Regions from separate parts of the Homo sapiens genome. Here all the other regions are linked to region 1. The links are contacts of gene promoters, found by promoter capture Hi-C in human tissues and cell types (Jung and others, 2019). All regions are on one chromosome and are shown on one strand. Each heading gives the region's core, a stretch centred on a gene start or on the middle of the fragment in contact. The rest is flanking DNA. Distances are from core to core; before and after follow the strand shown. Region 1 holds the start of ERMN (ermin). Region 2 has its middle 79 kb from the start of CYTIP. Region 3 overlaps LOC105373712 (a long non-coding RNA gene).

Region 1 (4,692 bases), core at 665-3,164:
TTTACATTAGAGGCCTATAAAGTAAATCATTTCGTGAGATTACTTTAAACTGTATGTTGGCCGGGCACAGTGGCTCACGCCTGTAACCCCAGCACTTTGGGAGGCCAAGGCAGGTGGATCAACTGAGGTCAGGAGTTCAAGACCAGCCTGGCCAACATGGTGAAACTCCGTCTCTACTAAAAATACACACACACACACACACACACACACAAAATAGCTGGGCGTGGTGTCAGGTGCCTGTAATCCCAGTTACTCAGGAAGCTGAGGCAGGAGAATCGCTTGAACCCTGGAGACAGAGGTTGCAGTCTGCCGAGATTGCACCATTGCACTCCAGCCTGGGCAACAAGAGTGACACTCCGTCTCAAAAAAAAAAAAAAAAGCTGTATGTTAATTGTAGACTTTTAGGAAAGACCCGTTTTTGAAACATTTACCTTTCACAAGGTGCACACACAGATTTGGACACACCAAATCAAAAAGTAGGGTTGACTCAGTGGACTAACTTAAGAGATAGACATCACGTTGGTATGCCAATCAGCTATGCCATTCCATGCAGCCTCAGCCTTGAACAGTCTGGAATGCTTTATAAGGTGGAACCCACAGATAAGTTAAGACTCTCTTATCTGCCTACAGCAGCTTTGAAAATTTGAAGTCATTGCCTGGATTGCTTTGTCAACCCCACGCTCATGCAACATTTCATGGAAAGACTGTCATCCATACTCAGTCAAACAATTTCTGTGTACAAAACTGTAGTTCTTGTTACCTTCTCTGAATGTCATTTCATCAGCACTAGTTTCTTGGAGAGAAAGATCTGTGATAGCCTTATGAACAATAAAGAGTTTCTCTTCTGGGTTTTCTAGGAAAAAAATATAAAATCAGTATTTTAACATTTAAAATATTTATTGTTCAACAGTTAATAAGTTATCAATTTAAACTCTAGGTAGAAGTCTTTAATTTTAAATCTGATCATTAAAATTTACTATTTCACTCTTTGGATTCATTCTTTATCAATTCAATTTATTTACTTAATGATCACTTTATTGATTGTAATCTCTCCTTTAATATTTATATAAGATATATATATAAGATATAGAACCATAAATTCAGAGAACTTCAGTTATATTTAGAAGGAAATTTTAACATTTTGAATTCTCTTTGTTCAAATAATATGGGGCTGTCCATAATCATAATAAATACAGTAGTTAACATTTAGCCAATACTTACCCTAGACTTGTAGTTATTATTATTATTCCGCCTTCTTCTAGTGAAAAAAACTCAGGCTTCGGGAGACAGAAAGTTGTCTGGGGTCACAGCTGTCAAATAGACCAGCCTGGATTTCACCAGAGGCAGAGGTTTAGTCCTTATACTATGCGTAGTAGAATAAAGGGCTACATTTTTGGGGTGTCCAGCTCATTTCGATAATAGTTTATCAAAAAAATCCAGGGTAAATTTATAAGTCAAAACAAGAAAATTAAGGAGAAGGGAAACACTTTACCTTTTAGCATTTTGTCCTCCATGGATGAGTTGAGCAGCATGTTCCCTTGTAATTTTCTTCTTTCCTCCTGACTTCCTTTGGTGAGTGCACCTTCCAGACTGGGTTCTACCCTGTAGTGTGGCAGGGGGCTGTCCACATCAGTCAATTCCTCACTGATTTTAGTGATTGTTTGTTGACCGTTTTCAGGTGGTTTATCCCCATTACACTCAGCCTGGGTAAATGTAGCCGGAACATCTGTCATGATGTGCGGTTGAATCCGATCTGGAGAGAGAGCTTTAGGGAAACTGAGTGAGTAGATCCTTGATAAGATACCTGCTCTTGCCTTCAAGTCCTATAGTTCCAACTCCTACTCTAAGAGCACAAATTATTCACTTTAGTACATAATAACAAGGTTCTTTTCCTAAAAGTATCCAGACAGAGATTAGAGCAAAAGCAAGAGGATTTGTCAGATCTGCCAGGAGCCATGAGCAAGAATCCAGCCAATCACCACCTTCTTTGTTGCTTGCCAGTTCCCTGGCAGAGTTAAAGGCATCCTTTTGATTTACATAAACAAACAATCTGAAGCAATCAGGCTTTTGTGTTGGCATGTAGAGAGGGACTTTCAGCTTGTCAGTCCCCCTCTGGGAACAGAGATTTTTGTCCCTTTTCATAATGGCCCATTGTAATTTTCCCTGTAACAGGAGCCACAATTGTCCCACAGCTTTAATCCAGAGAGAATGACCACCTTGAGGCATATTAGTTCTGTGTAACCAGCTTAACATTTCCAAACAGATTTTGTTCAAGTAAAACCTCAGCTATTTTGTAAAGGACAATGGCATTGTTTCTTATTTATTAAAAAATAAAACAGCTTATGGAAAAAACCTATAAACAGGACAACTTTACTGTAAATGGTTCTGGCTGCAGATTTGATGGTGTGCTTCCAGCAGGCTGGAGAAGGGACCTATGAAATAAACAAATTCTACCAACTTGCTAATACCAAAAGTTTTATAATTTCAGAGTAATTTACTTAGTCTATAGCTTCTTATCCTCTAGTTTATGTCTGCTGAAGCCCAGCCGATCCTTTAAAACCCTAATAAAATTATCGCCATGAAGGTTTCTCCTCCCCCAATCAGAATTACAATCCTTTCTATTCCATACTGATATTACACAATGCTGGTAAAATGTAGAGGACCAATGCAATCTGCCCTTGGGAGAAACAGGTGATTATGTTAAATGACTGCTACTGACCACCCCTTCCTTTTTAAATCTTTTTCTTTTTTGGATTTCTCATAGTACAAAATGGTTCCAGAGCCTTTGCCCACACAGCTCCTTCTATGTGAAATGCCCTTCTCTTCCTCAAGCCCAAGCCCTGGGCTGACCAGCTTCCCTAAGTTCTGTTTTTAAGCTTAAATATCATCTCCTTAACTACACTATCTCTAACCGCCAGGATTAGGACAGGACTCTGTTACACATTGTCTTTGCCCTTCAGAGTATTCTTCATGGTTGTAACTAAATAAGCAACTGCACAATTATCTCTGTAATGTCTGTTTCACCAACTGCAAACTAAGTTTCATCTGGCGAGGGGCCAGTTTAACTTGCTTACATGTGTCCCCAGCACTTAGCATCTGGCTTGGAATAGTAGCACGCAATAAAAATAATTATATATATACACATATATACACAAATAATTATATATATACACATACATAACAAGAATTATATTATATATATAATATATACAATAAATTTTATCCCCAAGAGAATAAATTTCAGATCATTTTTAAAGAGAAGAAGAATAGGTGTTGAAGAGTTGTAGTAAGCATATCACCTTTAAAAGTGTGTCTAGGGCTGAGCCCATTCAGGTCTATATCAGGGACAACACCTCACTCTTGTATAATCCCCTCTCCCTTGTCCTTGGAAGACATCTCTAATAGATCCTAGATCTCCCTCCCGCGTCATCACCAGCTGTTCTCTAGTCAGCACTCTAATTCTATGTTTGTTTGATTGTTTAACTGTTTTAACAAACGCTCATATCACACTTATTATGTGCAAGCTACTGTCCTAATTGACTCATAAATAGTAATACACTTACTCTTCATAACAGTCTTCTGAGGTAGGTGCTGTTGTTATCTCCATTTTATAGACTAGAAAAATGAAGTGCAGAGAGATTAAGGAGTTCAGCTAGTAAGGTCACAGAGCCAGCAAGCCTACTGATGAGAGTTTGCAGCACAGATGAAGCTAAGCGCCATCCCTGGCCTGTGTGCAGATGTTTCCTTGGACCAGAGATCCCACAGGGGTTCGGCATTAGCACCTTGGCAGTAGAGACAGTTGTGGCCAGGAGAGGGCAGCAGAGAGCCTAAGGCAGTCTCAAGACCTGCCCCAGAGACACCCTGCAGCTGCTGAGGATGATGTTCTGGGAGCGTCCTCCCAAGAAATTCAACTACAAGCTTACTGTTGAGAAGATATTGAGTGGAATCATATGGGAGAATGCAGAAACTAAGACCAAGCTTAGGAACAAATGGGGACATACTAGATTGTGAGATCCTTAGGGCAGGAAGTGGCACTAATTCAACCAAATGCCCTGCGATAAACACAGGAGTACAGAAATACATTAGCTCCAAAGGTCATGCCTCCAATCACTCCGTTCCCTCGGGGCTGCCAAGTACCTCAATCCAGGGACATAGCAAAGTTGAGACAGTTCAGATTCATTGTCTCTCCTACTCCTAGATTTCTATTACCCCATGGCAACGGGCACCTCATACCCATAGCCTAGCTTTTATGGGAATTCGTGTCTTTATTTTTGGATTGCCTTCTTTCTAAAACCATGCTGTGACATTTTTTATGGCCTTAAAATTATTTCAGTTTTGGAAAGATAGAGAAATGATCCAGAGTTCTGTCATCCTTGGCTAACCATGTGTTTACATTTATTTAAAAACATGCTTTTATGCTGCCCTAGGGAATAATGGAGGTCGGGTAAATGGTTTGTAACGTGTATTATTTTTTCCTACAAGTAGACGGCAACATGAGACACATTTAGCAACAAGATGAGTCTATCCAACTACTAGATAAAACATAGGCTATTTTGTTCATAAAGAGGTAAGTTGTCTCCCATTATTTGTAACAACCTATGACTTAGAAAGTATGTTAGAATTTGCACTATCATCCTTACTTCAAATACAATTGCAGAATGTTCACTGTATGAAACATGACTGTTTTATTTT
Region 2 (4,692 bases), core at 943-3,442, 200 kb after region 1:
CGGCATTATTCACAATAGCAAAGACTTGGAACCAACCCAAATGTCCAACAATGATAGACTGGATTAAGAAAATGTGGCACATATACACCATGGAATACTATGCAGCCATAAAAAATGATGAGTTCATGTCCTTTGTAGGGACATGGATGAAATTGGAAATCATCATTCTCAGTAAACTATCGCAAGAACAAAAAACCAAACACCGCATATTCTCACTCATAGGTGGGAATTGAACAATGAGATCACATGGACACAGGAAGGGGAATATCACACTCTGGGGACTGTGGTGGGGTGGGGGGAGGGGGGAGGGATAGCATCGGGAGATATACCTAATGCTAGATGATGAGTTAGTGGGTGCAGCGCACCAGCATGGCACATGTCTACATATGTAACTAACCTGCACAATGTGCACATGTACCCTAAAACTTAAAGTATAATAATAAAAAAAAAGAAGTTGTGAAAATTAATATTAATTTATTTCTGGACTTAGGGGAAAGTATAGTCTTTAACCATTAGGTATAACTGTAGGTTTTTCATAGATTTGCTGTGATTTACAGAAAACAATGTAAGATTCAAATATACACATGCTTATTTATTTATCCCAATTATTCATCTGAGTTTGAGGGAAATAATCAAAGTGAAGGTCCTCATTTTGGTTGCACTAGCTTTGCACCTCCCAAGTAAACCATCAACACCTAGACCCTTCCTCAGACTCTCTTTCTAGAAAACTCCGATTAAGACAGGTACCTACATCAAGAATGAATTAGTGAAATAATATTCAAAAGAAGATCATGTTTAAACTGAGCCTGATGAGAAATAAAAGTGAATCATGTGAGTTAGACAGAGACAGGGAAATTCCAGAAAGATGAAAAAATAGTTACATGAAATCCTAGAATTGTAGATACACATGCAGTGTTTATAGCATTGCCAGTAGTTCTAGTTGACAGGTATATTAGAGAAAGAGGTGAGGGATTAGCTGAGGGAGGAGAAAAGGAAGGAAATTGAGTTGCTATGAAATTCTATTTTTGTTCGGAAATAAACAGACAGTTTCAAATTAAGATTTAAAAATATTTTAAAGAGGAAAATAAGGTGATTATACTTATAATTTAGAACAATCACTAGTAGTTATCTGAAAGAGAGTAAATTAATAGGAGTGGAAATGGAGACACAATATGAGAAAAGACCATGGCAGACACCAAAGTAACAACTGGTAGGGGCCTGAAGTGAGACAGTGGTATGGTGGCATACAGATGAAGAGGAAGGATAGATATATTTAGGAAGAAGGGACAATAGGACTGGGTTGTTGGGTTGAACAAGAGGGATCACAGGCAGGGAAACAGGTTTGTCACGAAAAAAATGACTTGATATCTGTCAAATATTTGTATCCAGAATCCGTAAAGTATACTTACAACTCAATAATAAGAAAACAAACGACCAGTAAAAAAGTGGGCAAAATATTTTGATGTACTCCAAATGCACAAAGTCAGTATTTGTAGGAAAAGAAGCTAAATATTATTAGTGATCACAGAAGTTCAATTTAAAATAACAATGAGATACTACTGCACTTCACCAGAAAAGCTACAGTGAAAAACTCTGGAGCAACTATTACTCTCATATACTGATAGCGAGTATAAAATGGTACATACACTTTACACCCCTAAGTATTTACCTAATTCTACTTGAAAGTATTTACACTCCAGCAATTATAGTGTTAGGTATTTACTCAAGAGAATTGAAAACACATATCCACAAAAACACTTAAACATCAATGTTCACAGCAGATTTATTCATAATAGCCCCAAACCGGAAACAACCCAAATGTTCAACAGGTGAATGCATAAACAAATTGTGGTATGTTAATAGAATACAACTGTACCCAGCAATGTAAAAGAACAAGCTGCTGATACATCTAACAACATGACTGAATGTCAAAAACAGTATGCTAAGCAAAAGAAGTGAGACACAAAAAATTACATTTTGACATTGGAATCAGAAGTGACTATGTTATAACCAGGTGGATACATAAAGAAGAGGCTGGACATTAGGGCCTGGATCTTAGAAGATAAGTCTGGGACAAATATGCAGATTTGAACATCACCAGCCTTATTAAAGACAAAAGAGTAGATGAGATCACCAAGGAGGAGTGTTTAGGACAGCCAAAGCTAGATACAGGTAAATATTAGCATTGTAGGGACACAAAGAAAGGAAAATACTGTCCAGGCACAGTGGCTCACACCTGTGATCCCAGCACTTTGGGAGGCCAAGGCGGGCGGGCGGATCGTTTGAGCCCAGGAGTTTGAGACCAGCATGGGCAACATGGTGAAACCTTGTCTCTGCAAGTAATAGAAAAATTAGCCAGGTTTACTGGCACAGGCCTGGTCCCAGCTACTGGGAAGGCTGAGGTAGGAGGATCACTTGAGCCTGGAAAGGTCGATGCTGCAATGGGCTGTGATCATGCCACTGCACGCCAGTTTGGGTAACAGAGTGAGACTCTGTCTCAAAAGAACAGAAAAAAAAAAAAAAAAGAAGAAGAAGAAGAAGATGAAGTGCAGAATGCAGAGAAAAAGAAGAGGTAGGGGGAGGACAATCAAGCAAAGGAAAATAATTATGGGAGAGGACAGTCTGTTGCAAAGGCCAGAGAGGGACAAAGGAAGAAAAGGGTAAATATCTTTGCACTAGACTACTACAAAATACTTAGCACAGAGGAGGCCATTTTACAGGAAGACTCAAAAGTTCCATTGTAGTGGGTCGAGGAGTGAATGGGCAGAGAGAAAATGGGGACAGAGAATGTACCCTACACTTAACAAAAGTTTGCTTTGGAAAGGAAAGAACTACAAAGTCTATGTCTTTGCGAATGTCATATTTCCACCCAAATGTAAATTTTTGGTTATTTCACAAATACCTCACAGTGACTAAATTCTCAGTAAGATGTTTATGGTATCACCCATGTATTTCTGATAAAGGAAAAGCTGACATAGAGAAAAGTGCATTTTATGAACTAGTTCACGTATTATATAAAAGTAAAGATCCAGATTGCAGTATAGAATTGAAATGTGGTTTGCAAATTCTTGCTTTTGCTCTATACAGAAATCCTAGGCTGTATTTCCCCTGTTCCGCTTCACTTATATCTTATATGATTGTCACCTTGTGTTTCTCCATTTAAAAATAAAAGGCAAACTCAGCAGTTCCTTTTTCTTAAACTGCTTCAGTAACCAGCAGTTGCCACATTAAAAGCTTTAGCTGCAGGACTATAAAAATAGTCTAATGCTCCCTAGCAAGTAGCTACATTTCAGCCAGTTCTCTTTTCAGGGATGTAGCAAGGTCAAATCTAATGGCCAGGGAAGGACAGGCTATGAGAGAGAAGGGAAAGCCAGTTGACATTCACAGAGCAAAAGTGCATTGTGCTTGGAATTTTTTGTGTAAATGTTAAACAGTGCCCACATTTAACCACCTGCTTGTTGTTTAGAAGGGTTCAAATGAACAATTTCAAGCACAATTGAATAACACTCAAAAGAAAATCAAGTGTAATTTCCTAAGTTGCTGAAGCAAGGATTCTTCTATGAAACACCATTAGTATTTCTAAACCTGATTTGATTATATTTGAAATTTAATGCATACAGTTCAGTGGCACCTCGAGATTTATTTGTGCAAAGATGGAATTACAAGGTAGACCTTTATAAATGATTGTTTCTTTCTGTGTATGTATTTTTAAAATTCTTCATGTCATAATTGTAATAAAACTAAATGATTAAAGATTAAATGTCATTTATTTTTTGGCTTCCTTATGACAATATTTTGCTTTGCATTTAAGATATATTAAAAAGTAGGGAAAATACACCACATAAAATCACTCACATCACACTGCTTGTATAGCTCATCTTGAAATTCTTCACCTGTGTACTATCTCTAAATATTTATCAGTTAGGAAAGAAAGGGTATGTTGTAATCTTCAGGTTACTTTGATAAATCTCTTAAGAGGGTAATTCTTTTACTGCCTTTATTAAATGCCAACTTCACATGATCGCTGATGCTTTAAAACCTTCAGCGTTTCCCTCAATGACAGGATCAAGTTTAAATGCTGTAATCTAATCCTTACAGAATCCCTCAATCCCAGTTCTGTAGGTTACTCACTGCCATGAGCATCAGCCCCTGTTTTAGACACGATTCCAACCAGGGACAACCTCTTCCTTGTATTCTACTTAAACAAATCTCTCCCATCCCACAAGCTTCAACACGTCAATTTTCTTGCAGCAATGTTTGATAAAGATTTCTTAACTAATATTTGAAGGAAAAAGAATATTAACCTCTTTTAAATATAAAAGTGATTGTAATTACAAGTTTGTTACATACATCATTAACAAGACACAAACAAAAAAAAACTTAAAGCACTCTGTGGGAAAATGTTTCTAATAAATAGATTTTAAAGAAACTATTCAAATCAATGTTTTAATAACTCTCTGCCAAAATATGTATATTTCTTCTAAAAGTCACAGAGCATTTCTTGAAAATCACTTCCAGAACACTCCATAAAACAGCCTGGATTCAGTAATCCCCTAATCTCCAGGAATTTATCCTGATGCAAAAAAGTACCTATCCAATTTTATGTTCACACTGTAGGTAAACTATTGCATCAATGTGAACATTTGCCAAAGTTTGCACATATTAGTGTTTTAAAATTAAGATGCTGAAATT
Region 3 (4,692 bases), core at 1,542-4,041, 150 kb after region 1:
TTATGATATACAGAAATATTTCATTTCATTCATCAGTCTTTCCTCTGTGATTTTCTTAATTGCTTTTATGTTTAGAAAATCATTTTCTATCCAGAGATAAGATAAATACTCATCTATATTTCTTCCAAGTTATTTTGGTTTAACTCTTTATATTTAACTCTTTAACCCACTTGGAATAAAATGGGTAATTATCTTTAAGGGGGGATTGCCTAAACTGGACTTTTCAATCCAAATAACCAATTTCTCCAAATAGCAACCCTTGTTGGGTTGGATAATTTTATAATGAAACTATACCCTAGTTTCTACCTCCAATCTATTTATTTTTGTTACATAAATAGTTCTAATTTTTAACCAGTTTCATGTTGTTTTTATTATTGTGGCTTTTTGCAACCCAGTAGAGTGATTAAGAACCCTACTTTGAAGCAAGGATGCTTTTACTCAGATCTCAACTCTACCCCTGACTAGCTATCTCACAGTAGGCCAGTTATGGCCTCTCTGTGACTCAGTTTCTTCATCTGTGGAATTGGCATACCAATATTAACTTTCCTCATGAGGTTGCAATGAAGATTAAATGAGTTAGTTGTGCAAAATCTCTTGTGTTACAGAGAAAAGTCTGAGAAACCAAGGCACAGAATGAATGTATGTAGCTAAATGTGAAAGAATAACATTGTAGGCAAATATCAGTTTGCTGAAGACATTTCTTACAGCTATGCCATGTCCAACTTGCCAGCTCCTATTTCTCATAACCTGGTTTCATGACTAACTAAAGCTGTGAACACCAAAAACAGTATTCTAAGAAAACAGAATCTCAACTTTCAGAGACTGCTGTTTTTCTAGGTAATAAAGAGTCTCCATAGAGTTGCATCATTCAGAACAATAACAGTGACACATAGTTCTCTGCAACATTGGAAGTAGATTCACTATCAAGGGTAAGCCTTCCAGGAAGAGGCAGTCTCTTCTCATCCACCTTTGCTGCTCCCTAGTAGCTATGAAATAGCTGCTCCATATCAGTAGCTATGAAAATAAAATACAGAGAGAAGGTAGAAGGCTCAACTGCATCTATGATGCACTAGACATTTTCTGTCCAAGGGATGGAGTCATAAAACAAAACATGTACAGGGCTTAATACCTGGGTGATGAAACAATATGTACAAGACCCTGTGACATGTGTTTACCTATGTGACAAATCTTTACACGTACCCCAAACCTCAAATAAAAGTTAAAAAAATTTATTCTGTCCCACGCAAAGGTGAGGAAATCTGTCATCTATTTAGAAAGCCAATTTCTGTGCTTTGGTTACCTGTGACTCTAATATTTTTATTATCAATTAATCTTCAATATATTTTATTTTTAGAGCAGTTGGAGGTTCATAACAAAATTAAGTGGAAAGTGCAGAGAGTTCTCATATATCCCCTGCCTCCACATTTGCACAGCCTCCCCCACTATCAGCATTAGGCACCAGAGTGAGACATTTGTTACAGCCCCTCTATGACTCATTTTCCTTACCTGTGAAATGGGCATACCAATATTACTTCCTTCATGATACTGATATGAAGATATTTAATGAACCTATATAGCCAATCATTTTTACCCAAATACAAGCAATCACTTTTACCCAAATGTAACCCATGTTTACATTAGGTTCACTCATGGTGTTGTATATTCTATGGGTTTTGACAAATGTATAATGATACATCCAGCATTGTGATATCATACAGAATAGTTTCATTGCCCTAAGTATCCTGTGTGCTCCCCCCTTTTTTTTTTTTTTTTTTTTTTTTTTGAGATGGAGTCTTGCTCTGTCGCCCGAACTGGAGTGCAGTGGCACGATCTGGGCTCACTGCAAGCTCCACCTCCTGGGTTCACGCCATTCTTCTGCCTCAGCCTCCCAGACTACAGGAGCCCACCACCACGCCTGGCTAATTTTTTGTATTTTTAGTAGAGATGTGGTTTCACCATGTTAGCCAGAATGGTCTCGATCTCCTGACCTCGTGATCTGCCCGCGTCGGCCTCCCAAAGTGCTGGGACTACAGGAGTGAGCCACCACGCCCGGCCTTGTGCTCCACTTATTTATTGCTTCCTCCCACCTAATCCCTGATCTTTTTACTGTCTCTACAGTTTGTTTTCACCAGAATGTCGTATAATGGGAATCAAACAGTATGTAACATTTCCACGTTGGCTTTTCTCACTTACTAATATACATTTAAAGTTCTTCCATGTCTTTTCGTGACTTGATAGCTCATTTCTTTTTAATATTGAATAATATTCCATCATATAAATGTACCACAGTCTCTTTATCTGTTTACCTATTGAAGGACGTCTTAGTTGCTTCTAAGTTTTGGCAATTATGAAAAAAGCTGCTATAAACATCCATGTATAGGTTTTTGTGTGGGCTTAAATTTTCAACTTATTCGGGAGAATACCAAGCAGACCAATTCCTGGATTCTATGGTATGAGTATGTTTAGTTTTACATTAAACTGCAAAGCTGTCTTCCAAAGCGGCTGTACCATTTTGCATTTCCACCAACAATGAATGAGGGTTCCTGTTGCTCTACATTCTCATCAGCATTTGGTGTTGTCAGTGTTTTGGATTTTTGCCACTCCCATAGGCCTATAGTAGTATCCTGTCACTTTAATTTACATTTCCTGGTAGGTAGATCAAGAATAGAAGACTCTACCAATCGCTCCCCTCCCAAACCCCAAGGACTCCAATTTAACAACTATCTACCCACAAAAAAACCATCTTCATAAGAACCCATAATCAGGTGAGCACTCGTAGTACTTGGTTTTAACTTTGTATTGCTGAAAGGGGCACTGAAAAAGTAGAAAAAAAGACATAACCCTTCCCCTCCACCTCCCCACCCCAGCAGCAGTGGTATGGTACAGAAAGCTTCTCCATGAACTGGGGGAGGGAGAGTGCAGCAATTGTGAGGCATTAAACTCAGTGCTGTTGTTATAACAGAAAGGAAAACCAGTCCAAACTTAGCTGATCACCCACCCAAGGAAGGAGCATCAGCTAAGTTCTCATCAATCCCAGTGGTAAGAACTTGAGTTCCCACAAGCCTCACCACCATGGTCTAAAGTGCTCTGGGGCTCTAAATAAACTCGAAAGGCATTCTAGGTCACAAGGACTACAATTCCTCGGTGAGTCCTAGGGCTAAACTGGGCTCAGAGACAGTTGACTGGAGGGACATGTGACCTACTGAGACACTGCAGCACCTAAGGCAGGGCTGCTATTAACACTTCCCTAACGCCAGGCTGCATAGCTCACAGCTCCACAAGAGACCTTTTCCTTCCACTTGAGGAGAGGAGAGGAAAGAGTGAGGATGAATTTGTCTTGCATCTTAGATACCAGCTCAGCCACAGCGGGATAGGACACCAATTGGAGTCATGAGGCCCCCTTCGCAGGCCCTAGATCCTAGATGACATTTCCAGACATACCCTGGGCCAGAAGGGAACCCATTGCTTTGAAAGAAAGGACGCTTTCCTGGCAGCATTCATCACCTGCTAAGTGAAGAGCCCTTAGGTCCTGAATAACCAGCAGCAATATGCAGGTACTACATTGAGGGTCTTGGGGGAGACTCTGAAACTTGCTGGCTTTGGGTGACTCAGCACATTCCCAGCCATGATGGCTATGGGTGAGACTTCTTCTGCTTGAAAAAAGTGAAAGGAAAAGCAAAGGGGACTTTGTCATGCACCTTGGCCACAGGGTTGTAAAGCACAAAGCAGGCCTCTTGGGGTCCTCAATTCCAGGACTTGGCTCTTGGATGGCATTTCTGGACCTGCCCTGGGCCTGAAGGGAGCACGCTGCCCTAAAGGGTGAGTCCCAACCCAGGCAGCATTCACCACAAGCTGACTGAAGAGACTTTGTACCTTAAGGGAACATTGGTGGTAGTCTGGTAGTACTCCCTGTAGGCCTGTGGTGACGGTGGCCAAGAGGTGAGGCTCCTCTGCCTTTGAAAAGGTGAGAGAAGAGTGAGATGGACTGTATCTTGTAGTTTGAATGCCAGCTCAGCTGCAGTATAATAGACTTCTAAGGGTTTTGACTCTAATCCCTGGCTGCTGGGTGGCACCTCTGGGCCTTCCTGGAGCCTGGGGGAACTTGCTGCCCTGAAGGAAAGGACACGGGCCTGGCTGTCTTTGCCACTTGCTGATTGCAGAGAACATAGGCAGTAGCCAGGGAGTGGTTGCAACAGGCCTTGGGTGAAATCCAGTACTGTGCTGGCTTCAGGTCTGACTGAGAACAGTCATAGTGGTGATTGCCACAAGGGAGCTTGTATCACTCCACCCCCAGCTTTGGGTGGCTCAGAATAGAAAGAGAGGCTCCATTTGTTTAAGAGAAACTAAGGGAAGAGAAAAAGAGTCCCTGTCTGATAATACAAAAAATTTTCCCAGATCTTGTCTAAGACCATCAAGGCAGTACCTCTACAAGTATGCAATAACCACAGTGTTACTGAGCTTGAGGTACCTCTTGAAGCAGATACAGCTTAGATCACAACATCCAAGTCCTATCAAATATCTGGAAAGCCTTCCCAAGAAGGACCAGTACAAACACCAGACTGCAAAGACTACGATAAATACCCAGACACAGATGAATATCTACAAATATTGAGACGACCCAGGAAAACATGACCTCATTAAATGAACCTAATAAGGCACCAGGGACCAGTCTTGGAGAAACAGAGATATGTG

The links. Contacts are between HindIII fragments. The study calls those that stand out against the background at their distance.
Region 2: a contact is called between a fragment that was not itself captured here and the fragment with the promoter of ERMN in region 1, in 2 of the 25 tissues and cell types used here (lymphoblastoid cells and spleen).
Region 3: a contact is called between a fragment that was not itself captured here and the fragment with the promoter of ERMN in region 1, in 1 of the 25 tissues and cell types used here (spleen).

What each region holds. Positions count from the first base shown.
Region 1 is chr2:157,323,910-157,328,601 of GRCh38, forward strand. It overlaps ERMN (ermin), which reads right to left and starts at 1,915. Exons shown (of 3, transcript NM_020711.3): 1 at 1,493-1,915; 2 at 761-853. The coding sequence starts at 1,733. RefSeq lists an enhancer at 1,799-2,348. The HindIII fragment of the contact is 5,881 bases long and covers 24-4,692 here.
Region 2 is chr2:157,520,724-157,525,415 of GRCh38, forward strand. No RefSeq gene overlaps it. Among named protein-coding and RNA genes, the nearest start is that of CYTIP, 79 kb to the left of the region's middle. The HindIII fragment of the contact is 3,076 bases long and covers 655-3,730 here.
Region 3 is chr2:157,476,654-157,481,345 of GRCh38, forward strand. All of the region lies in intron 3 of LOC105373712 (a long non-coding RNA gene), which reads right to left. Among named protein-coding and RNA genes, the nearest start is that of CYTIP, 35 kb to the left of the region's middle. RefSeq lists enhancers at 3,792-3,921, 4,062-4,111 and a silencer at 4,272-4,331. The HindIII fragment of the contact is 3,799 bases long and covers 893-4,691 here.